Linked DNA regions of Homo sapiens: region 2 is linked to region 1. The links are contacts of gene promoters, found by promoter capture Hi-C in human tissues and cell types (Jung and others, 2019). All regions are on one chromosome and are shown on one strand. Each heading gives the region's core, a stretch centred on a gene start or on the middle of the fragment in contact. The rest is flanking DNA. Distances are from core to core; before and after follow the strand shown.

Evidence for each region. Contacts are between HindIII fragments. The study calls those that stand out against the background at their distance.
Region 2: a fragment that was not itself captured here is called in contact with the fragment with the promoter of ZNF468 in region 1 in 6 of the 25 tissues and cell types used here (H1 embryonic stem cells, adrenal gland, heart left ventricle and 3 more).

What each region holds. Positions count from the first base shown.
Region 1 is chr19:52,856,043-52,859,189 of GRCh38, forward strand. It overlaps ZNF468 (zinc finger protein 468), which reads right to left and starts at 1,577. Exons shown (of 4, transcript NM_001008801.2): 1 at 1,530-1,577. RefSeq lists an enhancer at 1,176-1,255. The HindIII fragment of the contact is 14,237 bases long and covers 1-3,147 here.
Region 2 is chr19:52,671,806-52,674,985 of GRCh38, forward strand. The region is part of intron 1 of LOC122539214 (Zinc finger protein LOC122539214); the gene reads right to left. It also overlaps a transcript of ZNF83 not described here. Among named protein-coding and RNA genes, the nearest start is that of ZNF83, 35 kb to the left of the region's middle. RefSeq lists an enhancer at 2,205-2,704. The HindIII fragment of the contact is 8,097 bases long and covers 1-3,180 here.

The DNA of each region.
Region 1 (3,147 bases), core at 327-2,826:
GGTTAAAGAAAATTCTTTTGAAAGGTTCTGATGAAATTGACTCCCAACATTGAATTCTTCCTTACAAGAAAATCACACTAACATTTATAAAATGCAGCAGTGTAAACACACAGCTCTTGACCTTGAAAACAGGGAAACAGGGTCAGCTGTAGAACCAAGACATAAGCAAATTATTTCAATCAAGAAATACATGGGTGGACAGCTGAGGTGGTTCACACCTGTAATTCCAGCACTTTGGGAGGTGGAGGTGGGTGGATTACCTGAGGTCAGGAGTTTGAGACCAACCTGGCCAACATGGTGAAACCCTATCTCTACTAGAAATACAAAAATTAGCTGGGCTCCATCCTTGCAACTTATTTAACCTCCTGTTGGTCCTTCTCCCCAATCTTTAGATCGTCCTCAATCTCCATAGATTTCTGCCTCTTCTCCCATCTATGCGCCTCCTCTGCTCTCCCTGTTAAATTCTCTCTTCTCTGTTATAACCCCCTGGACCCAATCTGGCACCCCAGATCCCCAGGTGTCCTCCCCGCTGTGCTTCTCCCTCTGTTCTCCTTGCCACCAGCACCACTCTGCTCTGTCTGACCCGGCTCCACATCCCTCCTCCTCTCCCTCACTCTGATGAGCCTCCACATTTCTGCCCCTCTCCCTACCTTGCTGTCCTTCATCTCTCTGTACATCTAGCTTTTCTCTACATTTCTCCAGTTGCTTTTCTCCTCCTGCTTTCTTATCTTTTATCACTTTTGCTGTCTCTTGGCAAATCCCTCACCCATCCTCTACTTTGCCATCTGTTATGGGTCTTTCTCATTCTTCTTTTCTCTGTCTCAGGTTTTCTACTGCTCTCTCAGTCCCTCTCTCTGTCTCCTGATCCCTTTGGCCCACACGATCACAAGAGGGTTTGGAGTAAGACGCCTGCATCTCGGAGAAGCGCATTTTCCAAGTGCTGGAGCTGGGCGGGCAAGAACACCCCGCGTCACAGGACAAGCCCCAGGCACCTCTCCAACGAGGGCTCAGGGGACGCGGTGACTGCGGAGGGGAGATCTGGGGAGCAGCAGGGCCCAGCAAGAGGAGGAGGGAGGTGGGGAGCGACGACGCCTTCGGACAAGGGTGGGATCCGCAGGATCCCAGGACCACAGAACGCAGCCTTCCCGGGACTGGGGTCGCCGCGCTGTGCTCCAGGAACCCAGGAGAGTAAGGCTGGGAGGCGCACAGGGTGGGAATACACCTCTAGGGTGAGGACTTTAAAAAGAGCCGTGCGGAAGGAGTCAAAAAACGGTTTTGAGCAGGAAAACTACGCGATAGGAAACGTATACATTGCCCTATGGCAGAAAGACCCGGGACGGGACCAGCCTCAGGGCGACTTTAAACCTAAAAAGAAGGGGCTTCCGGACTCCCAGTAGAACATCTCCATTTGCTCTGAGTGAAGGAAGAAAGGCGAGAACTTCCAGGTCTATGGGGACCCCACATCCCATGTACAGAAGTGCCGGGGACCTGGGAAGCTCAGACTTAACACCACACAGAGCAAAACTCACCGCCCGCCGCGGCGTGACCGTCATTCCACGGGATCCACTTCCTGGTCTGCGCGAATCTGCGCGCGCAGGACAGAAACCAGGCCTGGGTGGAGCCAACGAGGAGGCGAGCGGGGCCCGGGTGAGGTGTGGGCGGGGCGCGAAGCGGCGAGACCTTGCCCTTTAGAACCCGCAGAGGGCGGGGCCGGAGCGGGACCTGTGCATCTCTCAGCCTCCTCCCAACCCGTTCTCCGGGTTTTGGCGGCGAGAGCCCCCAGGAAGGCAGACGGATAATTCAAAAGCCCTGGAATAGTCTGGAAGGAGGATGCAAACTAGAATGTAAAATGCAAAGCCCTTTCTGGGCGGAACGTAGGATTTCATGCTGATGGCCCACAGGACAGTATAGAAATCTTCTCCCTTTCTATTCTCCATTCACTCAGGAGGGAGAGTCCACCCAGTGCTCAGCTTCAGAGACATCCCTAGGGCCACAGCCTGGGATGCCAGACGGAGTGCTCAGGCCAGGGAGGAGTGAGGTCACCACCTGCTGCTTAAACACAGCAGGGATGCGGGCGTGGGAGCCTGAGGTCCCAGCTACTCAGGAAGCAGCGGCGGGAGGATCGCTCAGCCTGGGGGTCCAGGACAGCCTGCGCGACAATGTAACATTCCCTCCCGCAGTCTCTCTCTTTTTTAAATTTTTAAAATAAAATTTTTATTAGGCCGGGCACGGTGACTCACGCCTGTAATCCCAGCACTTTGGGAGGCTGAGGCGGGCGGATCACGAGGTCAGGAGATCGCGACCATCCTGGCTTACACGATGAAACCCCGTCTCCACTAAAAATACAAAAATTAGCCGGGCGTGGTGGCGGGCGCCTGTAGTCCCAGCTACTCAGGAGGCTGAGGCAGGAGAATGCGGTGAACATGGGAGGTGGAGCTTGCAGTGGGCCGAGACCGAGCCACTGCACTCCAGCCTGGGCGACAGAGCCAGACTCCCTCTCTAAAAATAAATAAACAAACTAAATTTGCTTGTGTGAGATAGGAATACAACATTACTCTTCTCCATATGGATATCCAGTTAGTTGTCCCAGCACATTTGTAAAAGAGATCTGTTACTTTCTCCTTTTTATTTACATTTTTTCTTTTTCTTCTTCTTCTTCTTTTTTTTTTTTTTTTTGAGACTGAGTATTTCTCTGTCGCCCAGGCTGGAGTACAATGGTGACATCTCGGCTCACTGCAGCCTCTGCCTCCTGGGTTGAAGCGATTCTTCTGCCTCAGCCTCCGGAGTAGCTGGCATTACAGGCACACCCACCATGCCCGGCTAATTTTTGTATTTTGGGTACAGACGGGGTTTCATCATGTTGGACAGGCTGGTCTCGAACTCCTGACTTCAAGTGATCCGCCTGCCTCGGCCTCCCGAAGTTCTGGGATTACAGGCGTGAGCCACTGTGCCTGGCCCAAGAAATACTCTTTACTTCGCTTTTTAAATGTTGAAAAAATACAATTGAAAACTAAAAAATCTTCCCCAAAATGAGAAATCATCTTCATGACAAAACAGGAAGAAATAAAAACCATTTTATTAGTAAATAAGCCTTAGACCAGAATGTGTTGGGAAATACAGGCAAAGAGCTGAGAGGTTGAAAAGAGA
Region 2 (3,180 bases), core at 119-2,618, 180 kb before region 1:
ACAAAGGCTATAAAATATGCAGTCTTTAAATGTTAGGATTTATTTTCATATAGAGAAAGATCATGAAATATTACTAAGAATACATTGCAGTCAAGTTATTCCGTTTTACTTGGGCCCTGAAAAAATATAACTAAGTTATAAAATTGGCTGGGCACATTGACTCACACCTGTAATCCCAGCACTTTGGGAGGTCGAGGCAGGTGGATGACCCAGAGGTCAGGAGATTGAGACTAGCCTGGCTAACATGGTGAAACCCCATCTGTACTAAAAATACAACAATTAGCTGGGTAAGGTGGCACAAAACTGTAATCTCAGCTACTCAGGAGATTGAGGCAGGAGAATCTCTTGAATCCAGGAGGCAGAGGTTGCAGTGAGCAAAGATCTCACCACAGCTCTCCAGCCTGAGCAAAAGAGTGAGATTCTGTCTCAAAAAAATAAAAATAAAAATAAAATGAAATTATAAATCACCTCATTTCTGCATGTAATACTTTTATGACTATATCTGTAAGTTAACATGTACTATGAACTATGTTTTTCTCCCACATCCCTAGCTATGGAAGAATTCATCTATCAAACACTAGTAATTAGCTAAAATATGATTACATTTAGAAGGGAAATTAGCATATCTAGAATATTAGCAAGTTTAAAAAAGCATAATGTCGTCAGGCATGGTGGCTTGTGCCTGTAATCCGAGCATGATGGGAGGCTGAGGCAGGAGGATGGCTAGTGCCCAACAGTTGGAGTCCAGCCTAGGCAACATAGCACCTCATCTTTATGTTTTAAAAATTAATTAAGTTACTTATTTATTTTTGAGATTGAGTTTGGTTCTTGTTGCCTAGGCTGGGGTGCAATGGCACGGTCTCGGCTCACTGCAACATCTGCCTCCTGGGTTCAAATGATTCTCTTGCCTCAGCCTCCCAGGTAGCTGGGATTATTGGTGCTCGCCATCATGCTGGGTTAATTTTTGTATTTTTAGTAGAGACGGGGTTTCACCGTGTTGGCCAGGCTGGTCTCCAAATCCTGACCTTCCAAAGTGCTGGGATTACAGACATGAGCCACCGTGCATGGCAAAAAAGTTTATTTTAATCAGAAATAATTAATAAATAGAACATGATAATGGGTACAAAAAATAGAATAAGACCTATTATTTCATAACACAACAGAATGACTGTAGTCAATGATTAAATTGTACATATAAAAATGGGGATGGCCAGGTGTGGTGGCTCAAACCTATAAGCCCTGTCTCTACCAAAAATACAAAAAAAACTGGATGTGAGCCTGTAATCCCAGCTACTCAGGAGACTGAGGCATGAGAATCACTTAAACCCAGGGAGCAGAGGTTGCAGTGAGTGGAGATTGCACCACTGCATTCCAGACTGTGCGAAAGAGCTGGACTCCATCTCAAAAAACTAAACAAATGGCTGGGCACAGTGGCTCATGCTTGAATCCCAGCACTTTGGGAGCCAAGATGGGTGGATCCCCTGAGGTCAAGAGTTCGAGACCAGCCTGACCAACATGGTATAACCCTGTCTCTAAAAAAATACAAAATTAGCCGAGGGTGATGGCGCATGCCTGTAATCTCAGATATTCAGGAGGCTGTGGCAGGAGAATCATTTGAGCCAAGAAGGCAGAGGTTGCAGTGAGCTGAGATCGCACCACTACACTCCAGGGTACACAAGAAGAGTGTAACTCCATCACACACACACACACACACAAAATGCTATAAACAGAACATCAGAAAAAAAATATAGAAAGTCACATGTATTTAAAAACCTTAAGCTTTTGAAAGCTGTTTTCCCAAGTAATCAAAAATGAGCCAATAACGATGCAAATATTATCTTTTTGTTTTTTGTTTTTTCTGGAGACAGAGATCATGCAACTGCACTCTAGCCTGGGTGACAGAGTGAGACTCCAACTCAAAAAAATAAATAAATAAAAAATTATTAGGCCAGGAGCAGTGGCTCTTTGGGAGGCTGAGGTGGGCCAATCACCTCAGGTCAAAAGTTCGAGACCAGCCTGGTCAACATGGTGCAACCCTATCTCTACTAAAAATACAAAAAATTAACCGGGCCTGGTGGTGTGTGCCTGTAATCCCAGCTACTAGGGAGGCTGAGGCAGGAGAATTGGTTGAAGCTGAGAGGTGGAGGCCGCAGTGAGTCGAGATCATGCCACTGCCCTGCAGCCTGGGTAACAGAGTGAGACTCCATCTCAAAAAAAAAAAAAAAAAAAAAAATTACCAATGTCAACTGAACTTGGAAAGCACCACACATTTGCACACTCACACAGACACAACCCTCTGATATGGCTCTAGACCAAATCCACAGGTTAAAAAGCCCTCAAATGAACTCTTGGGCCTTAAGCCTTTCAAAAGATCACCTGTTTCCTGTGAGGTTGGGGCTGTGGCCCTGATGTGTGAAGACTTAGGACCATCCTGTCATCATAGAAACCCTAAACAAAATAAAGAAGGAAATTTACCTCAACAATATAAAAGACCATCCATGAAATGACCACAGCTGAAATAACCAATCAGGAAAAATTGAATGCTTTTCCTGTAGGATCTCACATGATGCTAGAACGTTCTCACCCTTTCTATTCAATCAATACTGACTGTCCTAGCCAGAGCAATGAAATAGCAAAAGAAATCAAACTCATCCAAATCAGAAAGAAATAAATAAAATTTTATTTGTTTGTAGATGACACGATCCTCTGTGTAGAAAGTCACAAAGACTCAACCAAAATACAAGTGGAACTAATAAACATTCAGTGGATTTGCAGAGTACAATATTAGCACCAAAATTAGTTGAATTTCCATGCAATAACAGTAAAAAATTTTAAAAGGAAATTAAGAAAACACTTCCATTTTCTAGAGAATTTAAACTAAGATATACTTAGGAATAAACGTAAAAATGCGAGAAGTTTCTACCTTGAAATCTATGAACATTGATCAAAATGATTAAAAACATAGAGATACAACCAATATTGATAGATTGGAAAACTTAATCTCGTTAAATGATTATACAACCCAAGATGATTTAGATTTAACACAACGCCCATACAAATCCCTATCAGTTTTTGTCAAAGAAACAAAAAACCGGCTGGGAAAAGTGGCTAACCTCTGTTGGCCAGGCTGGTCTAAAACTTCTGACATCAAGTGATCTACCCACCTTGGGCTCCCAAAGT